Linked DNA regions of Homo sapiens: region 2 is linked to region 1. The links are contacts of gene promoters, found by promoter capture Hi-C in human tissues and cell types (Jung and others, 2019). All regions are on one chromosome and are shown on one strand. The core of a region is centred on a gene start or on the middle of the fragment in contact, and the rest is flanking DNA. Distances in the headings are between cores, read along the strand shown.

Evidence for each region. The method cuts DNA at HindIII sites, captures the fragments that hold promoters and counts their contacts. A contact is called where the count stands out against the background at its distance.
Region 2: a contact is called between a fragment that was not itself captured here and the fragment with the promoter of BRD9 in region 1, in 2 of the 25 tissues and cell types used here (H1 embryonic stem cells and bladder).

The regions. Positions count from the first base shown.
Region 1 is chr5:888,774-894,719 of GRCh38, reverse strand. It overlaps BRD9 (bromodomain containing 9), which reads left to right and starts at 1,919. Exons shown (of 16, transcript NM_023924.5): 1 at 1,919-2,114; 2 at 2,866-3,080; 3 at 3,433-3,565; 4 at 5,073-5,133; 5 at 5,555-5,699. The coding sequence starts at 2,063. TRIP13 (thyroid hormone receptor interactor 13) reads right to left here and starts at 1,836. Exons shown (of 13, transcript NM_004237.4): 1 at 1,630-1,836. The coding sequence starts at 1,721. RefSeq lists silencers at 1,550-2,169, 2,360-2,578 and an enhancer at 1,918-2,550. The HindIII fragment of the contact is 22,788 bases long and covers 1-5,946 here.
Region 2 is chr5:961,069-967,451 of GRCh38, reverse strand. It overlaps LOC124900931 (a long non-coding RNA gene), which reads left to right and starts at 3,291. Exons shown (of 2, transcript XR_007058676.1): 1 at 3,291-3,353; 2 at 4,726-5,134. RefSeq lists enhancers at 1,615-2,116, 3,703-3,862. The HindIII fragment of the contact is 5,091 bases long and covers 1-4,891 here.

The DNA.
Region 1 (5,946 bases), core at 670-3,169:
TTTGAAAAACTCAGACAATACATAAGAAAGCCCAGTAGTTAACAGGGTAAGTTGGAGTTGGCCTGCCTGGGACCAAATCTAGAGCCACCCCTTGCCTGTGGGTCCTCTACCAGCTGTGCCCTGAAGAAGCTGTGCCTCAGCTCCCAGTTAGAAAAAGGGGACAACAGTAAGAGTTCTCGCTATGCTGGGCTACTGTGAAGTCATTAATACACTCAAAGTGTTTAGGACGATACCTGGCACATAGTAAGCACGCAATAATGTTGGCTTTCACTATTACTAATGAAGTTCCACAGCTGTGGGGTCAGGCCTGGGGTCTGCATTGTAACAAGTCTCCAATAGCCGTGATTCGTGCTGAGAAAATCTAATGCTTTCAGCTTGGTATCCAGGGCTTCCCTTGGTCCCCCTTGCTGCAGTCCTCCTAACACCTCCCCTTTCTACAACAGTGACCTGGTCCCGGATCACACCTCTGTGCCCTGCTATGCACTGTCCCAGCTTACTGGCCTGATCAACTGCAGTCACCCTCTAAGTCCTATTCAATGTCTGCCTCCCTCTGAGCCCTCCTGGACAGGCTCCTCAGAGCCAGGCAGGTGACATGTGGCCCCTTTGCAATCGTCCCAGCACCCTACAAGCAGCGACCACCATGCATAGTGCGGTTGTGTGCAGGTGTCTATGAACTCTGGTGCAGTTGTACGTAGGTGTCTGTCCTCTAGGTGCAGCTGTGCTCTGGTGTGATTATGCCTAGCGTCTCTGGGCCCAGGTGTGGTTGTACATGGGGTGTCTCTAGGCTGCGGTGGCACTGTGTACAGGTGTCTCTGAGCGCTAAGGTGTTTACACAGGTGTCGCCAGGCTGTGATGGGGCTTTGTGCAGGTGTCTCTGGGCCCTGGTGCAATTATGCTGACGTGTCTGAACTCCAGCACCTAGAAAATACCCAGTCAACAGCTATTCTGTTAAAGGAAAGGTCTCTTCCTCTGCATCCCCTCTGAGGCTGGTGGTCTCACCTGACCTCAATCCACCCTCCGTGGACATAAGGAGGGTCTGTGAAGGTCTGGCCCCGCCGCTGAGTTCCCCCCACTCCAGGGAGCAGCACAGCCCACAGGCCCCACCATACCATGAACTGACTTGGTCACAAATGAGTGGGATGTGCTTTGAACCCTAAAAATTTAACATCGAGTCCGTGAGGAACGGGAACAATTAAAGGGTCTGAGAAGCAGTGGCTCAAAGAATAACCACCCAGCTTTCGGCTGAGACTAGAGCTCTCTGTAATGCGCAGCCATCCTATTCTCCAACGTGGGACTCAGGGCCACATCAATGCACTGGAGGACAGCCGGGGCAGGGGCAGGGTCAGGGCCAGGTCCGTGAGCTGAGGTCGGGTCGGGGCTCAATCTGTGAGCTGGGGTCCTGCGCGCAGGGCTCGGGTCGGCCGGGTCAGTGCCCTGCGGTGGGGTCGCGTCATTGCGCTAGGATCCGGTCGGGGCCCGGCGGCCTGTGCGCCCGGGTCCAGTCGGGCCGGATCAGTACCCTGGGGTTCGGTCGCATCAGAATCAGTGCGCTGGGGTCGGGGCTCGGTGCACGCGCTGGGGTCGGGGCGGGTGGGTGCCCAGAGGATGTGTCGGACAGGTCCGGCTCACCTGCTGCCGCGCTGATGCACCTCCACGTGGACCGTTGGCGACTCGGCCACACAGGGAAGCGCCTGCTTCAGGTCGCCCACGGCCTCGTCCATGGCGCCCCCGAGAGCAGTGGGGACCCAACCAGGGCGCGGCCGCCGCCACCTCACGCCCAGCGTCGCCGCCACAGCCGCTGCCTCAGCCCGCGGGCCCCGCCCTAGCTTCGAATCTGCCGCGCGAGGCGCACCACCTCCTGACCCGGAAGCGCTCGGGCCCGGCAGGGCCACTTCCTGCCGCGGCCCCGCCTCGCCCCGTTTCCGGCGCGGCCCAGCGAGCTCGGCAACCTCGGCGCAGCGAGCGCGGGCGGCCAGCCAGGGCCAGGGGGCGGTGGCGGCCAAGGTCCGACCGGGTGCCAGCTGTTCCCAGCCCCCGCCTCGGGCCCGCCGCCGGCGCCGCCATGGGCAAGAAGCACAAGAAGCACAAGGCCGAGTGGCGCTCGTCCTACGAGGGTGAGGCGGCGGCGCTTTGTGACGCGCGGCGGGCGGGGTCCCGGGCACGGGGGAGGAGTTCCGGGCACGCGGACGGGGGTCCTGGGCACCGGGCGAGGTCCTGGCCACGAGGGAGGGGTTCTGGGCACGCGGGAGGGGGTCCTGGGATTTCGGGCAGGGAACCGGGCACACGTGAGGGGTCCTGGGTAGGCGCTTACGTTCCTGGTAGAGGGTTCTGGGTTCGAGGCTGCAAGCCCACTCACCCCGGTCCTGGAGACTAGGGAAGCATCTGTGCTGGCTTTTGTGTGGAGCTCAGGGAGAAGCTGGGCTGCCCTTTCTCCCGCCTTTCCCTCCCTCTCCCTTGCTCCCGCAGCAGCTCCATGGGTGTCAGCGGGCAGCACGGGCGCCTGCAGGAAGTCAGGCGAGGGTGAACCGAAGTGCTGGGGGTTTCTAGGAGGGAGATCGGGCTCCGGGGTTCCAGGTCCCTCTTAATCCATCTTCTTGAACGAGTAATGTGAACAACATCCCACAGGGCCTCTGGTGAGGACACCGTGGCTCGAAAGGGACCTGAAGCTCCCTGCGGAGGGGAAGGGAGAACAAGGAGGCAGTGACATGCCGCCACTGTGGTCTTCCCTTCCGTCTTTCCCTGCTGGTTGGCAGCCCCGCTGTACTCCTTAGGGAGGCCTTTCCCTCTTAGCACCTTCACGTCTCACCTGGCTGCGTGGCGTTTGCACCTGAGCACGCGGGTAGAACTCGGTCTGTGTCTGTGCAGATTATGCCGACAAGCCCCTGGAGAAGCCTCTAAAGCTAGTCCTGAAGGTCGGAGGAAGTGAAGTGACTGAACTCTCAGGATCCGGCCACGACTCCAGTTACTATGATGACAGGTCAGACCATGAGCGAGAGAGGCACAAAGAAAAGAAAAAGAAGAAGAAGAAGAAGTCCGAGAAGGAGAAGCATCTGGACGATGAGGAAAGAAGGAAGCGAAAGGTAAAGGAGCAGCGGCGGTGGCCCGGACGCTGCCCACGAGGAGCCCGTGGGGAGCCTGGTCCCAGGACCCAGGCAGAGTGCGCCTGCGTGGCTGGAGGAGGGGAGGGGGTGTTCCGTTGGTAGCAAAACGCGAACCGCTGAGGCCCGCAGACTCAGTTCCAGGATCCTGGGTGTGCTGTTCCTCAGCAGACCCTGCCAGGGTCTCTGTGAGGAGGGAGCCTGGCATGAGGAGGATCTCGGAGGGGGTTTCCCTTAGTTCTGTCCCTCCCCTGAGAACTGCGAGGGGATTGGGCAGACCTGTCCGGATCCCGCCTACTCCTGCCTTTCTCACTCCCTTGACTCTGCCGCCCAGGAAGAGAAGAAGCGGAAGCGAGAGAGGGAGCACTGTGACACGGAGGGAGAGGCTGACGACTTTGATCCTGGGAAGAAGGTGGAGGTGGAGCCGCCCCCAGATCGGCCAGTCCGAGCGTGCCGGACACAGCCAGGCAAGGGTGCACTTTTAGAGACTCTCCTGGTGTTCACAGCTCATCGTTGTAAATGAGGGGTCGGCACCGTGTCCTGTTGCTTTGGGGAGAAGCATGGGAGGGAGGAGAGCTGGTATTTCCAGGGCCTCATCCCAGGTGTCCTCTGGCCTGAGGTTTCCTCCGGTGTCTCTGAATGTCTAGAGCAAGGCGTGGCCAGTTACCACTGGTGCCCTTCAGTTTTGTTTTTTAACTTGTTAGCTAAGGATGGCTTATATGTTTTTTAAGCGTTCATAAAAAGAAACAAAAAGGCATCTCCACAGAGACCAATCGTATGTGACCCGCAAAGCCTAGACTGTTTTTTGTCTGGCCTTTATGTAAAAAGTTTGCCAGCCCTGGGTCTTGAAGTTTGGTTTTGTTTGCACTTAAGACAGTATTGGAACAGTAGCCCCATCTGGGTCAGACTGGTAAGAGAGATGCATGTCAGTGAAAACGCAGGTAATTCCCCTTGGGAAGAAGGGACCTCGAGGCCCAAATGGTGGGTCTGAAGTTGCTGAAAGTGACCATAGGCTGAGACAAAGGAAGCTGGAGGCCTTTAGTAGAATCTCTGTCGTGGGCACCATCTGCGAAGGATGGCATTTGGCTGGAATTTCCAGTTGACAAGGACTTGCCCTCTGAGTTCTCTTTGTCCCCAGCCTTCCTGTGCACAACTCACAGTGATGAGGCATTTGTACCTAAGACAAGGGGTGTCTCTTCCCAGCAACTCTCAGCATCCAGTGGTTCCTGGATTATAGGGAAACAGACGGCTGGGCTTTGGGACATGGGACATCAGGGAGTGGGGAGGCTAGTGCTGCGATCATTCAGGCCGTCAGAAACTGTCTGAGGCCTGCTGGCTCCACTGAAGGAAAGTTCTGGAAAGCTGGTGGCCTTCTGAGCTCCTGTGGTCATTTGGCTCTTCAGGCACTTTCTTTTTTTAATTTATTTTTGAAACATGGTCTTGCTGTGTCGCCTAGGCTGGAGTGCAGTGTCGTGATTCACTCCTGGGCTCAGATAACCCTGGGCTCAAGCGATCCTCCCACCTCAGCCTCCCAAGTTGCTGGGACTACAGGCACGCACCACCACGCCGGCCATTTATTTACTTTTTGTTGAATTTTAAGGGACCTCAAGTGAAATAATAATCGGTGAATTCAGGATCAACCTTTATGTCCAGAGCGTTTGTTCCGTCGTCCATTTCTTGTCTAGAGTAGTGGTATGAGCTGAAAACATTGCTAAGTGATCACCACATATTGTTGATGTAAGGGCTACCGGTTATTACAAGAGATTTTTATGACTCCTGCTGTGGGGGTGCCCTTTCTACCCGGCTGAGCTTGGTGGGAGCCAAGGCTGAGTCGGATGTATCTTTATATCCCCAGTTCTCGGTGGAACTTAAAATGCTGTGAGACACCAGACAGACAGATACTGTGAACTTGGAGCTCTCTAATGAAGGGATACCAAAGTCTTGTATTCAATTTTTTTTTCCTTAAATTGTCAGCCGAAAATGAGAGCACACCTATTCAGCAACTCCTGGAACACTTCCTCCGCCAGCTTCAGAGGTAAACCGGGGCGTTTCTGAAGAGCTAGTGTCTGGGGGGGTGTGGTGTCATCTTTTCTGAGGCCTTATTCCCCACGCCAGCCTCGTCAGCTGTGAAACAGACCCTGCACCTTCTCTTGGTGACTCCCAGTCCACTTCGGGGTGCGTAGGAAGAGTTCATGAACTCATTAGTGGCTCACTCTGAAGTCAGAGTAGAGTGAGGGAAGTCAAGGCTAGAGCTGGGACATTGATGGCCGCCAGGATGCGTTGGGGGAATTTTTATTATATCTGAAATACCTATCACAATAAATTAAAAGACGCTCGTAACTTTTTTATTTTTAAGAAACAAAATTCGGTCAGTTGTATCCAATTTTTGGATTGTAAGAGATTTTGTATCATTTAGAAATCTAGATTTTTCCGCTTTAAGATGTCTTTGCTTTCAGAAAAGATCCCCATGGATTTTTTGCTTTTCCTGTCACGGATGCAATTGCTCCTGGATATTCAATGATAATAAAACATCCCATGGATTTTGGCACCATGAAAGACAAAATTGTAGCTAATGAATACAAGTCAGTTACGGAATTTAAGGTAAGTTACTTTCATTGCCCGAAGTAATCGTGGCATAGTTCTGTGTATTCATGTCTTGTGAAGACTTCATTCACCTTAGATCATTTCTAGTTTTTGAGCTTTCACAGGTGTTTCTGTGTTCGGATGATGTTTTACAGACACAGCATTAAGGAAATGATTGGTCGTGAACGTTTTCTCTGTGCTTTGGTCTAGAAACTAGGTCAGGTTGCACGCTGTTAGAAGTCTGTTTCTTTTCTTTCTAAGTTAC
Region 2 (6,383 bases), core at 1,097-3,596, 72 kb before region 1:
ATTAATAATTATAGGCTAATTTGCTATTCACATTTCTCTTTGCTCAGCGACACCCCAGCAGCAATGAGCACAGTTAGTGCCCTGACCTTGGTCTCTAAAGCTCATTCTCCAGTAAAAAGAGCAGGGTTCCTTGGAGAAATGATGGATTCCAGGGCTGGGGGAAAAACCGGGGCAGCCTGGGGTTATGCTGGAAAGCGAGAAAGTGCTCCCGAAGGATGGGAGGGTCCCAAGGGCCCGCCTGGAAAAGCCCAGTGGCCAGAGCTGGGTAAATTTTAGCAACTAAGTAAATAATGACAGTGTGGGATGATCATCCAAAGCATAAATATGCACAAGTCCACATGAAGGCACACGAGTGATTGAATAAATCAGTGAGGGGAGGGCGGTCCTTCCTTCAGAGGAATTCCAGCAGAGTAGTGAGGAAACAAATCATCTCAGAACACCACAGTAGTAATTGTTGCAGACAAAACCCACCAACCCATGCTAAAATTAGCAGAAAAGACTTTGAGGAGAAATAGGATACTCTTGTAGTCTCAAAGTATCTTCCCTGAGAGGCCAAGGCAGGTAGATCATCTGAGCTCAGGAGTTTGAGAGAAGCTTGGGCAACACGGTGAAATCCTGTCTCTAAAAAAATACAAAAATTACCTGGGCGCAGTGGCACACACCTGTAGTCCCAGCTACTTGGGAGGCTGAGCGAGTGGATTGCTTGAGCCCGGGAGGTAGAGGTTGCCGTGAGCTAAAATTGCACGACCGCACTCCAGCCTGAGGGACAGAGAGAGACCCCATCTCAAAATAAGTAAATACAAATAAATAAATTACAAATGAAGAATAGTAACGTTACAGTGGGGGAAGCCAGCAGATCCCACCAGAACCAGGTGACCAGGGCCAAAACAACCCATAATGAGGCAAAGCATAGGGCCCGTGAGTCACTACTGCGGACGCTGAGCAGGGTATGGGGCTTCTGCCAGTTTCTTGGCACAGACACATAACTTCGATCCAGACATGATAAAATAGCAAACTCAAACTGAGGGCTGTTCTTCAAAACACCCAGCCAGTGCTCTTCCAAGTGGCAAGGCCATGGGAGGCAAGGAAACACGGGGCCTGCCGTGGGCTGGAGCCTACAGCGAGATGACACCTGCGTGCTCATGGAACTCAGTGTTGTTTCTAAAGCAGGAGGTGGATGTTACCAGAAACTGGAGGAATCTGAATCAAGCTACTGTGTAGTTAATTGCCCCGTGTTAATTCTTAGCCTCAATCCTTGTGGTCAAGGTCGGGTATGCAAGGTGCTGACACGGGAGGAAGCTGCCTGAAGGGGGCGGGGACTCCTGGACGATCTTGGCAACTCTTCCATAAGTCTAACGTTATTTCAGAAAAAAAAGTGTAGTGACATAGCTTAACAAAAAATAAGTGTAAAAAAGCTGAAAAGCAACAGTTAATCCTACGTGAGAGACAACGATGGTTGACTTTCTATACTTGGTGTTTCCCCAAGAAAGAAGCCCCTGGATGCCAGGGTCCCTCCCACTCTACACGTCAGCACGAGGCCGCGGTTCGCTCCCATCATCCGGTTCTAGATGTCAGCACGAGGCCGCGGCTCGCACCTGTCATCTGGGAGTTTCTCCCTCCCCTCCTGCCCACAGGACAACTTCTACTTCTCCTTTGGAATTTCTGAACACAGGAGGCCCTTCTCGGAAGCTCAGCTCTGCCTTCGCCCGCCAGGGCTGTTTCTCCCCTCGAGCCTCTGTCTCCACACCTGTGAAACGGGACGATAAGGGCCCCTTCATGGTGCGGAGGGAGGGCTAAGTTCATAAACGCGTGCAAACGAGGTGAGGACTGGCCGGCACGTAGAGACCCCGTGATGGCTGTCGGCCACCAAACAGACATTCTCCGTGCTCTTCATGCTCTTGCTTATGAGGAGAGATGCTGTGAAGATAAGTTTAAAAACGGCCATGCCATGACAGTTCACAAATAATATTATTCCCTCTGCGAATGCCCTTACCTTCTCTGATGACACTTGTTTCCTATCAACATCGATTTCTGTTGGCTTTCATGCCACCCTCTCTGAATGAGAATTGGGAAGACTCCAATGGCTGTTTTTAACCCCATATTTTTCTGTTCTGTAAACTTCTGTTCATTGCCAGGCTTTGTATCTTCCTTCTTTTAAAAGCGAAAGTGTCCTTTCTCTTCTTGTTTGGAACCTAGAATTGTGTATCGATGCATTTTTGGTGATTTCCCAATAACTAGCTGTGATCCTGCTCCACAGAGCCCTAATGCTTGAGCTCAAACTGTCCGAACCCACACTGCACTCCTTGGAGAAAATGAATGCAGCCTGAATTCTGCTGCTGAGAGTGCCTGGCCGTCCTGGTGGTCACTGACTCACTGGGGTCTGGCCGTCCTGGCAGCTCCTCAGGTCACCGGACTCTGGGGAGGCACCGTGCTGGTTCTGCCTGTGCCTGGTGGGACCCCCTGGTTCCCGGCACTGTCTGGGCCTCGTTCTGAGAGATGACTCCTTCTCACCATTGGTCACCAGACCTGGGCCCTCGGCCACTCGTGGCGTGGCTGAGATTTCAGGTCTCAGAGGACTGTCACCCCCTTCCTCCTATTCAATTTCTGCATGAAGTCTCTAAATCAATAACAGAGAAGGGGAGAGGAAAAAGGAAAGAAAAACTCCCACCTAATGGCCATTTTCAGAGCAGCCGCAGAACCATGTGACACAGCTGACCGAGGCAGCATTGCAGATACATTTGTGTGCCTGCAGATCTCAGGTACACGGACCCGTCTCCATGCTCAGGGGGCCTCTAAAGGGGGTGCAGGCTTTGGGGGCAGAGCAGAGGGGTGTAGGACTCTGGGGAGGCCACGACCACTGAGGGAAGGACCTTGCTATCTCACAAGGCCGAATCCTCCCCAAGGTGGCTGCCGTCTCCCTGGACCCTGCGTTCTGCACCCCCGGGAGGTAGGGAGTTGGATCTCGTACCAACGATGAATGCGTGGACACGTGTGGATGCCGTCCGCTTCCCAGAGTCCCCAGCCGGGCTCCCCAGGGCTCTGCGGGACCCTCTTCCATGCACCTGTGCTGTTTGCTCTCAGGTGGCTGCAAGCAAGTCCCTTTTCTCAGCCAGGCAGGAGGGAGTGGAGGAAGGGCCTGTGTGTCTCCTCAGTTTCAAAGAAACTCCCACGGCAGAGCGTGCTCTTGAACTAAAGCTTGAATGAATCAGAAACATCTGGGCTGTTTTTTCTGTGCTTAAGATACAGGAAACAGACCCATCCAAAGCCGTTTGGGGTTTTATCAAGGGGTCATTTAAGATGCAGAGCAACTTGAAATCGCCCATCTGTTGGAGAGCCGTGCGTGCTGACAGAGGGTAAGAAACTACAGCCCGCGCAGCTGCGGTCTTCATGTGGTCGCTGCACGCAAGGGTTTGCCGTTATCTGTTGCTTCTGAAGGCAAGGGTGAGGGGAGCGGAACTGGGTGTTGCCTGGTTCTGCCGTCAGACCAGGCACTGGGGAGGGAGTCCTGTGGGGAGGTGGGGCCAGGCCTTGTCTCTGTGACAGTGAACGTCCCTGTCCATGTTGGTGTTTCTCAGACAAGCCACCTCCTTCCACCCCCACGGTGGTGCAAGGGGAGGCTTTAGTCCAGGATAACAAATTCTGAACCAGCTGCTGCGTCTGGAGCCCCTGAGGGCTTATGCACTGGTGACCAGGGAGTTTCCTGGCTTATCACATCCGAGGCCGACTTTCGGGCTACAGAGGGGCGTGTGAGCCCCTGGAGTAGACAGAGGAACTGCTTCTCTGCCAGGCGCTGTGTTGAGATGAGAGGGAGGGCAGGTCCTTCGGCTTCTGAAACATGAAACAACCCCACACCTAGGGCAGGGCGTGCAATGCCACCATGGCCTGGAAGACCCAAGAGTGATGAGTGCTGAGCACAGGCCAGGCCCGGGGCTGTCACGGGCAGAGCCACTGGCCCGGCGTGCAGGTGGGAAGGAGGTCTCGGTAACTAAGCATTCGCATGATTCTGTCCTCTGAGGACTGGGGCAGGTGCTTCCTCTACCTCCCAGCAGCCTCCCTAATTCCAGAAGAATAAGAACAGGGGAGAGGAAGCCAGTGCAAGGGCTCCCACCTGCTCCCTCCAAGCCAGAGGTGCTGCCTCGGTTCTTCACTTCCAGCCAGGCCATGCCTAGCAGGCCTTCGTCCAGTCCACGCGTGGCAGCGCTTGGCCTGCCTCAGGCCTGTGTCCTCAGGCATTGTTCCCTCCTGTGTCTGCCCTTGTCTGGGGAGTATTTTCTGTCCTCGCTTCAAGTCCCTGAGAGTCTGCCTGGCACCCTGACCCATTCTGCCAGCCCAGCCAGTCCATACCAGGGAAGCTCCAAGGGTGGGCCTGGGTGGGCCGTGCCCTGGAGGAACACTTCTTGTGGCCCAGATGAACGCCGTGGGTGTGGGGGCCATGTGGACGGTGGTGGGTGAGGCCGGGGGTCCCCACAGCGAGGGCTTGTGGGTCTTGGTGCTGCTTCCATGTGGAGGGGAACTGAGGTCTAAGGTACAGCCCAGGTCCCAGGCCGGGTCACCCCCGTCCACCCTGCCTGTCTTCCGTGTGCTTGGGGAAGTGGAGGCAGCCCTGCCGAGGCCCCACGTCCTCTGTCACCTTTGCAGACTTTGGCACCCCGTGATGCTACCGTCCTGAGTGCCCCGGGGCCTGGCTGGTGTAAGCGTCTTCCTGAATTCCCTCTTTCATTCAAGCTCTAGAATTGGGCGCCACTCTGTGCCAGGCGGCTGGGGCTAGACCCCGCTCCCCGGCTGATGCTGTCCTGCCCCAGGGATGCCTGGCCAGGCTCTTGCTGTGTCCACCACGCTCCATCCACACCCCTCCATCACATTTCACCAGGGGCCCGGGCCAGAGACGCATCCGACATCCCATCTGGGAACAACGGCCTCAAAGAATGGGGAGCAGCGAGGGCCGCCAGACACTGAGTCCTTCTGGATCTTTCTGGCCAGGCTCCTTCCCTGGCATCTGGGCTCGGTGGGGGTGGTCTGCCCCCTCATTCCCGCAGACCCTGGCCCCTGGCAGGGCCCCCAGTCTCCACCTGCCCTGTCTGTTTCCTCCCCAGTGTAACTATGCTGTAGAAATATATTTTGGCCACACCCTGCATGAAGGTTCCAGTCTCTGTGTCTGTGGGAAGGGCTAATCTGCGGCAAGAAGTGGTCCCTGGGATGGAAAGATCCTGACACAACGGAGGTTTGTGTCCTGCTCATGCAACGGCTCTGCCTGGTGAGCCTGGCTTCCTGGCACTCACGCCCTTGCGGTTTCTTCCACGTAGTCCCAGGTGAGTCTGTGCGGCCGACAGCATGCGGCAGAGTGCAGATGGGTCACTTCCGAAACTGGGCTGGACATGCCAGGTCTCCCTCCTGGTTGCTCTGTCTCCTGGGTCACGGGCTTGGGTGAAGCCAGCAGCCATGCCGTGGGAACTCAGGCGACGCGAGAACAGAGCGATCTCCCGAGGTGCACGGGACTCCAGACAACAGCCCGCAAGGACCAAAGCCTGCCAGCAGCTGTGCAGGACCCTCGAAAAGTCTCCTGGGGCCAATAGAGCCCTCACACGGCAGCAGACTCTGGGGGCCTTGGGAGGAGTGGCTGCATTTTGCTGGGAGAATCACAGAATCTCTGGGGCCTGAGGGCCCGGGACGGCCCAGAGACAAGGAGGTACTCAAAGCTGTGTGTCGTCCTCCCATGCCGGGCCAGGTGTGTCCATGTGACCAGAGCACAAGTGGATGCCACTCCTGAGTCCAGGGCCTGAAGGACCCTGTGGCTTCCCTCTGGGTCACTCTGTCTGCCTTGGGTCACTCGTCCTGAAGGAAGCCAGCCACTGCGTGCGGGGCCCTGCGTGGAGAGGCCCTCATGGTGAGGAGACGTCCGGCCCACAGCCACGAGGAGCCGCGACCTGCCAGCACTGGGGGTGAGCTTGGACCTGCCCCTCCAGCCCTGTGGAGGCTTCAGAGCCATGGCCTGGGACAGCTGCTCAGCTGAGCCAGACCCACCCAGCCAAGCCCTTCAGAACCCCGTTGAGTTTGGGGGTCATTTTTCTGCGGCAGTGTGGACCACCAGGAAGGACATCCTTCACGCAGACCCGCCGTGGCAGAGGCTTCACGGTCTCTGGGGCTGTTGTCTCCCCACCAGCTGGCCCACAGGTCCCAGAGGGACACGCAGGAAGACTCTTTCGCCCGTCGGGAGTGGCTCACCTCCCGTCCCCTGGATTCTCTGGAAGGACAGTGGCCTCATGGCCACGCCCGTGTGTGAAGGCTGCTGAGGAGAGCAGCCTGGCTGGGTTCCAGAGGACGAAGCAGGTCAGGAAAGAGACGGAGAAGGGGGAGCAGCTTGGCAAGTGGTCCCACGGTGGGCC